Regions from separate parts of the Homo sapiens genome. Here regions 1 and 3 are each linked to region 2. The links are contacts of gene promoters, found by promoter capture Hi-C in blood cells and fetal thymus (Javierre and others, 2016). All regions are on one chromosome and are shown on one strand. The core of a region is centred on a gene start or on the middle of the fragment in contact, and the rest is flanking DNA. Distances in the headings are between cores, read along the strand shown.

Region 1 (2,700 bases), core at 183-2,682, 650 kb after region 2:
GAGGTTCCACACACACAAAAAAAATAAAAATAGAGCTGCCATTTGATCCAGCAACCCCACTTTTAGGTAAATACCCCAAAGAAAGGAAATCCATGTATTGAAGAGAGATATCTGCACTCCTATGTTTATTGCAGCATTATTCACAATCCCCAAGATTTAGAAGCAACCTAACTGTCCCTCAACAGATGAATGGATTAAAAAAAAAATGTTCCAAATACACAATGGAGTACTATTCAGCCATAAAAAAGAATGAGATCCTGTCATTTGCAACAATTTGGATGGAATTAGAGGTCATTATGTTAAGCGAAATAAGCCAGGCACAGAAAGACAAACTTCACATGTTCTCACTTATTTTTGGGAGCAAAAAATTAAAACAATTGACCTCATGGAGATAGAGAGTAGAAGGATGGTTACCAGAGGCTGGAAAGGGTAGTGCGGGGGTTGGGGGAAGGGGAAGTGAAGATGGTTAATGGCCACAAAAAATAGAATGAATGAGACCTAGTATTTGCTAGCATAACAGGGTGATTATAGTAAAAAATAATTTGGTTGCACATTTTTAAATAACTAAAAGAGTATAATCGGCTTGTTTGTAACACAAAGGATAAATGCTTGAGTTGATGGATTCCCCATTTACCATGATGTGATTATTAGGCATTGCATGCTTACATCAAAATATCTCATGTAACTCATAAATATATACACCTACTATGTACCCACAACAAAACTTAAAATTAAAAATGTAAACATTGCCTGGTCTCTGTGAACCTACGGGGTCACAGTTCTGAGTGTCCTGGCAGCATGATGCCAAGCCACTGTCCTCTGGAGAATATCTGACTCTCCTGATCCAGTATGGCCTTGCCTCCAGGGCCCTTTTGCTGTGGATTTACTCCTCAAAGAGTCAGTCATCAAGGGGTTCGCTTTATCTGGAAACTCTTGTCTGGCATTCCCTGCGCGCACACCTATGTCCCCGTTCAGAAGCTTCTTCGGTAAACGCCAGTGTCCGGTCTGAGGGCCTTTATATCTAGCATATAAAGTTCTGGTATAATGCAAATGTCTCTGGCAGGACAGTTTCAGGGACAAAAGTGGAAGCTGGATCGCTCAGCTACCTGACCTCCGTCTGAGATGTGACTCAGGCAACAGGGGGTGGAACCTCACAAACTGTCCAATTGGAGACGCCGCCGGAGCGGTGGGTGGGGCCGCCCTGTACAAAGGCGCGTGGATACGGTGGCGCGATTTCCAGTTTGTGTCTCTCCTGCCTCGAACGTCGCTAGGTGGCTCTGCCGCAGCCTCTGTCGCTCTGGGACCCGCACTGGCAGAGGGAGTCGTAGTTAGGGGGTGGGGACACCGCGGAAGCCCGGAAATGGTGACTGTGCGGGGCCTGGAATCCCGAGACCTGAAGAGCTGCTGGCCGGAACCGGCTGTCGCGGGAACCGGGCCTGCCCGCGGCCACTCCTGGGTCTGTGAACCCGAGTCCCCCTGGCGTAGCTCGGCCCTCGGCCTCCTCCCGCCGCAGAGTGAAGCTGGGCCGGCAGCCAGGATCCCGGGAGTCCTGTCCTGTCCCCGCGCGGCTACTGAGGCCCGGGTCCCGGAGCCCTGTGTGGGCAGCTCCATGCCCGTAGCCCCGCGTCTTCCAAGATTGTGTGGGGATCACGGGAGGGTCATAGGAGAGAAGGAATCCCGGCTCGAGTGTGGCGTTCGTGCGTGGGAGGAGCGGTGGTCCGTGGGGTCCCCAGTCTCTTCTTTTTCCCCAGGGGGACCGGTTTGCCCCTTAATTTTACAAACGTGTGAAAACAGGATCTCAAATCCACGACCCCGTTTTCCAGCCTAGCTCTTCCTAGGACTGACAGGAAATCCCTAAATTTGCCAATTCCTTCTTTCATTCCAAATGAAGCTTTCCCTCTCCAATTCATAATATTATTATTTGCCCTGTTAAATACAATTTGTAGGAAGCCATTGGTTTAGACTGAGCTCCTGCACTAGACCCAACAGACCAAACCAAAATGAGTTACCCACGGGGACGTTCCTCGCTACCAAGCTGAAACTAAGTTGTTTATCTGACCTTACAAATTATCAGGAGAGAAAGAGATGCTGGTCAAATCCCCAACAGGCCAGTTTTAGCCAACATGATAAAGAAAGTCCCCTCTGCTTTAACTTTTACCAGAAAAGCAACTTTGAAAGTTCCCGTCTTTCAACTGGGCGTGATGGCTCACGCCTGTAATCCCAGCACTTTGGGAGGCCGAGGTGGGTGGATCATTTGAGGTCAGGAGTTCGAGACCAGCCTGGCGAACATGGTGAAACCCTCGTCTCTACTAAAAATACAAAAATTAGCTGCATGATGGCCTGTGCTTGTAGTCCCAGCTACTCAGGGGGCTGAGGTGGGAGGCTCACTTAAGCCCAAGCCCTGGAGGTCGAGGCTGCGGTGAGCTATGATCTCGCCACTGCGCTACAGCCTGGGTGACAGAGGGAGACCCTGTCTCAAAAAAATAAACATCAATAGCGGTTGAAAGCCCCATGACTGGGGAGCAGCAGCCAGAGACTAGTGACTTCAAGCTAAGACCACTCTTGAGCCTGCAAAGGGAGGTCATTGAAAGCCCAGATGGGTCTTCCTGGGGAGCCTTCCCCAAAAGTGTCCTACTTGCTCTCACCCACCAAGGAAAGAGCTCTTTATACAGAGAGAAGCTACAGAGCACTGGAATGCTG
Region 2 (2,900 bases), core at 65-2,564:
TGTCCCAGGAGCCCCCATCTGTGCTCTCCCGGGCTCCAGGCCCTAGAGCCGCGCTGCTGCAGAGCCCAGTTCCCAGGGCTGCTCCCTCCACGTATCCACATCCATCTCCAGCTTTCCACCCTTTCTCTGACCAGACAGGCCTGGAGGTGCTGCAGTGTCAGTGACCGTGGGTCCCTCCGCTGCCACCTCCACCGCGATCTGGAAGTCTTTTAAATGTACTTAAGTTATCTTAGAATTTTCCTTCCCCACTTTATACATAAACATAGGAGGAGAGCAGGGACTCTGCTGGTGTCTTATTCACACAATGGGATTGAGGGTGTTTGTGTCATGGAACTGATCAATGGGGTGAGAAGTAGCTGAATAACCTGCAGGGGCAGCAGAGCCCGAGGCCAGTGACTCCACGCTGAGGCCAGTCTGGAGCCTGCAAAGGAAGGGAAAGGAGCTTTTCCTGGGGGCTTCCTGGGCAGCCCGCCCTCCCCTACAGGTGGCCTCCAGCTGCTCAGAGCAGCTCCAGAAGGAGTGTGGATTCCGAGAAGCTGTAGGGCCCTGGAAAGCAGAAGACCTTCGTGCAGACGCATTTGTGGGGTTCTGTCCTTTCTGGTGTTGTACCTCTGGAGCCTGGGGCTGTCTTCTGGGCAGGGTTTGGGGTTTGACATACATGGGGTCGCTGGAGTCAGAGTTATTTGTATATATAAAGAAAATGTGTGAAAATCAGGCTAGAGACACAATTGTTTGGTGGCGTCACCTGGATAAAAGGTTTATGAGGTTGACAGTTTATTTAGGTCCGAAGCTTAACCCCAGGTGAGAGTTTCCTGCAGGTGAAAATGAAGATCTGGAAGGACGGAGCATTTTCATACTGTGAGGAGGGGATGGGGGTGTGTGAGCAAGTCTTGGCCATGCCTCATCCCCAATTCCGGCCCGCTCGAGGAAATATGCCTCTCCTCCTGGTGCAGTCTTGCCTGGCCTGGTCTCGGTTCCCCTGCTGCTCTGAGGCAGGAGATGGCTCCTGTGGACACTGAGTCTGAAATTCCCTGCACACTCCTGTGACCCCGTGCAGAACGAAGGAGCGGGGACAGTCCTTTGAGTGAGGAAGACGCTAGTGTTCTCTTCTAACAATAGCAAGTTTGGCTGAAATGCAACTATCCAATAACCCGAGTGCAGGAAGCAGCTCGTGTAAGCTTAGAGAAGCTGTTGCTAGAATCTGTCAGTCTGGCTCCGCAGGGCCTGATACCCAGGGCTTCCGCTGTCACTTAGACGTGGGGGGCGGGGCCGAACATTCCATCCAATCAGAGGCACTGGCTCGGGGCCCTGCCCACTGTGCATCCAGGCACGGAGGATGTTGCATTCCTGCCGTCACCTTTGTCGCTGCGAGGGCGGCGGTTGGGATCTGGCCTTTCCAGCCCCGAGAGGGACCTAGTGCCTCTACCCAGATTTCTGTCGCTCTGTCACCTGCGCTATGCCCTGCTTTACTCACAGGAGCTGTAGAGAGGACCCCGGTACATCTGAAAGCCGGGAAATGGTGCGTGTGCTGGCCGGGAGTGGTGCGATGGGGGAGGGGCTGCCTGGAACTGGCGGGACCCGGGCCTCCCTGTGGGCGACTCCGGGGTCTGGGACCGAGTCCTCCTAGAGCTGCTCGGCCCTCGGTCCCCGCGGCCGCTGGATGTGGGTGGGCCGGCAGCCGGGACTCCGGGCGTCCTGTCCCGTCCCTGCCCGTCGACTGCGGCCTTGGCCCCGAAGCCCTTTTGTGCAGCTCCGCGCCCGCAGCCCGACGCCCCAGCTTGTGCGGGGGCCACGGGAGGGTCATGCGCGGATTTCGACTCGGGTGTGGATTTCGTCCGTAGGAGGAGCAGCGGTCTGTGGGGCCCACAGCCTCCACTTTCTCCTGTTAAAAATTATACTGAGGTACGTTAACAAAAAGTTCATTTGAGGAAACAGCCATTCACGAATGAGAAACACCCGGTCCTGGCTTGTGGTTTGTCAACGGAAAAAAAACAGACTATGTAAAATACAGAAGTGTATTCAGAGCCGAGTAGGAGAGACCTTGGCCGAGGGAAACACAACCCCAAGCAGCCTGGAGTAAGTGGTCCGGAGGCGGCTCAGGACAGTTTGGTTTTATTCATTTCAGAGAGACAGGAATTGCAGGGAAAATGATGGATCAAGGCTGGAAGGTGTAAATTCCATTGGCAGAAAGGGTGGGACCTGTGGAAGGGGGGTTAGGAGGCACAGGTGGTTGAGGGATTCTGTAGGTGGCAGCTGGTTGAGAGTGTGAAGCTTTGTCTAAAGTTTGGAGGAGGTAGGAAGGAATGCTGAAGGAAGGGGGTCTGTTATCTGCCACTTCATTCCATCCCAGCCAAAAAACAGTCCTGTTTCTCTAGATTTTATGAATTCTAAGACGTAACTTTACCTTTGCCTTGCGTGGCCTTAGGTCTTGTTTGTAATTTGGTATCTTGTTGCCACAAGGAGTCTGTTTTTCCAGTCAGAGAATGTCTGTTTTTACATGAATGTGCGTCAGTTGCTGCATGTAAACTCCTAAAGGGAGAGGGTATAAGGAGACCTGTCTCACCTCCCATCCTGTCATACAGAGGCACTCAATTTTCAGGGTGTTTTGGGGGTTCCCTTGGCCAAGAGCCAGTCACTTCACTTAGCTGGGAAGGTACTTTGTTTGTTTTTGTTTTTGTTTGAGACGGAGTCTCCTTCTGTCGCCCAGGCTGGTGTGCAATGGCTCGATCTCGGCTCACTGCAACCTCTGCCTTCTGGGTTCAAGGGATTCTCCTGCCTCAGCCTCCTGAGTAGCTGGGATTACAGGCACGCACCACCACCCCCAGCTAATTGTTGTATTTTTAGTAGAGATGGGGTTTCACCATGTTGGCCAGGCTGTTCTCAAACTCCTGACCTCAAGT
Region 3 (2,756 bases), core at 207-2,706, 670 kb after region 2:
ATACAGATGTGAGCCACCATGCCCAGCTTAGAATATTCTTCAAATGTCCATACCACCCAAAGCAATTTGCAGATTCAAGTGTGATCCCTATCAAAATACAAGAGCCATACTTCACAGAAATCGAAAAAATTATCCTAAAATTCATATGGAACCACAAAAATAGCCAAAGCAATCTTGAGTATGACTTCACAATAGACTACAAATCTAAAGTAACCAAAAAAGCACCGTACTGGCATAAACATAGACAGACCAGTGGAACAGAATAGAGAAACCAGAAATAAATTCACACACTTACCAACGATTTTTGACAAAGGTGCCAAAAACACAGACTGGAGAAAGGACAGTCTCTTCAATGAATGGTGATGGGAAAACTGGATTATCAACATGCAGAACATTGAAACTGGACCCCTATCTTTCACCATATACAAAAATCCACTCAAAATGGATTACGGACTTACATGTAAGACTTGAAACTGTAAAACTACTAAAGGAAAACAGTAAAATTCTACATGACCTTGTCTGTGCAAGGACTTTGTGGATAAGAACTCAAACACACGGGCAGCAAAAGCAAAAACAGACATGAGATTACATCAAACATCTCAATCCCAGCATTATCTCACTCATTCCACCTCTGGGAGTTACTCTGGGGCAGTCTCTGGCTGGATTCATCTTTCTCTGTGCTCTGCACAGACCTAGTACCAAGGGGACTAGAAGCAGCATTTACTTGTTCACTAAAAAAGGGGTATCTGCAGGAAGGTGCTGCAGTTCAGGCTGTGGCCACGCTGGGGCATCAGTAGACAGGTAAAATGTAGTAAGATAACCCACAGAAGGTGCATCGTGACGTGCTTGACAGTAATTCTGTCTGAAGCGTTTTGTTTTGCTTTGTTTTGTTTGAGACAGGGTCTCACTCTGTCACACAGATTGAAGTGCGGTGGCATGATCTCAGCTCACTGCAATCTCCGCTTCCCAGGTTCAGGCGATTCTCCTGTCTCAGCCTCCCGAGTAGCTGGAATTACAGGCGTGTACCACCACACCCGGCTGATTTTTATATTTTTAATAAGAGACGGGGTTTCACCACGTAGGCCAGGCTGGTCTTGAACTCCTGACCTCAAGCTATCTGCACACCTCGGCCTCCCAAAGTACTGGGATTACAGGCGTGAGCCACTGTGCCTGGGCATAAAGTGTTTCCATTAGCAGTACTCATGTTGCGGTATTATTGTCATCATCATCATTTTCATAAAGTAGAAAGTAAAACTTCTCTCAATGGTACCCATAATTTACACTGAAGATGTAACTATTCCTTGAGAACAAGATAGAACCTGGCCTGGGAAACAGCACTAATGCTTGTAAATTAGTTCTGTGACAACTATTCTGATTTCTTCTATGGTTGCTTATTCTTCCATACCATGTAAGTAAATTCCGTGATTATTAGTTTTGGGTGATTCATGCTTTCCCCACTAGAAAGAACAATTTGGTTTATTACGCTATCTTCCACCCGTTTCTCCAACACCAGTCACTATTTCAGTCAGAGCATGAAGAAAAATAATTTTGGAAATGGAAACCTGATGTTCTGCCATTTAAAGGTACTTCATGAAATCCACTCCAAGAGGGATCACTTGCTTCATTTCCTTGCAGAGTTGTTTTTTGTTTTTTTTTTTTTTTTTGCGATGGGGTCCCACTCTGTCGCCCAGGCTAGAGTGCAGTGGTGCAATCTTGGCTCACTGCAACCTCCGCCTGCTGGGTTCAAGCAATTCTCCTGCCTCAGCCTCCTGAGTAGCTGGGATTACAGGCGTCAGCCACCATGCATGGCTAATTTTTCGTATTTTTAGTAGAGTTGGGGTTTCACCATGATGGCCAGGCTGGTCTCAAACTCCTGACCTCGTGATCCATCCGCCTTACCCTCCCAAAGTGCTGGATTACAGACATGAGCCACTGTGCCTGGCCCATTTATTTCTTTATTGTGCAAGCAGTGACTTATTTATCCACTGCTTTTTTTTTTTTTTTTTTTTGAGATGGAGTCTGGCTCTGTCACCTAGGCTGGAGTGCAGTGGCGTGATCTCAGCTCACTGTAACCTCTGCCTCCCAGGTTCAAGCAATTATCTTGCCTCAGCCTCCCAAGTAGCTGGGATTACAGGTGTGCACCACCACACCCAGCTAATTTTTCTGTTTTTAGTGGAAATAGGGTTTCGCTGTGTTGGCGAGGCTGGTCTCGAACTCCTGGCCTTAAGTGATCTGCCTGCCTCGGACTCCCAAAGTGCTGGGATTACAGACATAAGCCACCACACCAGGCCTGGCTCTCCATTTCTTGAACACCACCTTTACCCCAGGTACAGAATTAGTGGTAAATAGTTACACATTACCTATTACATAAACTTTCCATACCTAAGAAGTTCTCTCCCACCTTTTCTGGACACTATATGCTGCTATTTCTTCTCATATTCTTAAAGATTTCCGAGCAAAGAATTTCTATTTGCTTAAATTATCAGATATATATTTGATATACATGTCTGTGAATAGTGTGCAGAGGAAATTAAAAGTATCCCTCTTCAATAAAGGGAAGTGGTTATCATAGGCCCTGGGTCTGGGAGTGAGGTCCAGGTCTACAGTGAAGGGGGGAGGAGACAGGGAAGTCAATCCTGGGGATCAAATCTAAATGCCTACTAAAATCCAAATGGACTGTGTAGGAACAGGTCCCTCATGGATAGAAAAACGAAAAAAACAGTGCTGAGAACAAGTAGGAAAGAGACCTAGAGACT

Evidence for each region. Contacts are between HindIII fragments. The CHiCAGO score rates a contact against its expected background, and 5 or more counts as called.
Region 1: a contact is called between a fragment that was not itself captured here and the fragment with the promoter of ZNF439 in region 2, in 5 of 17 cell types (fetal thymus, naive CD4 T cells, non-activated CD4 T cells and 2 more). The highest score is 11.6, in fetal thymus.
Region 3: a contact is called between a fragment that was not itself captured here and the fragment with the promoter of ZNF439 in region 2, in 1 of 17 cell types (erythroblasts). The highest score is 6.3, in erythroblasts.

What each region holds. Positions count from the first base shown.
Region 1 is chr19:12,494,196-12,496,895 of GRCh38, forward strand. No RefSeq gene overlaps it. Among named protein-coding and RNA genes, the nearest start is that of ZNF709, 11 kb to the left of the region's middle. RefSeq lists enhancers at 327-1,207, 1,208-2,087, 1,349-1,428 and a silencer at 1,109-1,158. The HindIII fragment of the contact is 913 bases long and covers 977-1,889 here.
Region 2 is chr19:11,847,412-11,850,311 of GRCh38, forward strand. ZNF439 (zinc finger protein 439) reads left to right here and starts at 1,315. Exons shown (of 4, transcript NM_001348719.2): 1 at 1,315-1,519. The coding sequence starts at 1,457. The HindIII fragment of the contact is 1,093 bases long and covers 1,177-2,269 here.
Region 3 is chr19:12,521,420-12,524,175 of GRCh38, forward strand. No RefSeq gene overlaps it. Among named protein-coding and RNA genes, the nearest start is that of ZNF564, 29 kb to the right of the region's middle. RefSeq lists a silencer at 616-910. The HindIII fragment of the contact is 5,681 bases long and covers 1-2,756 here.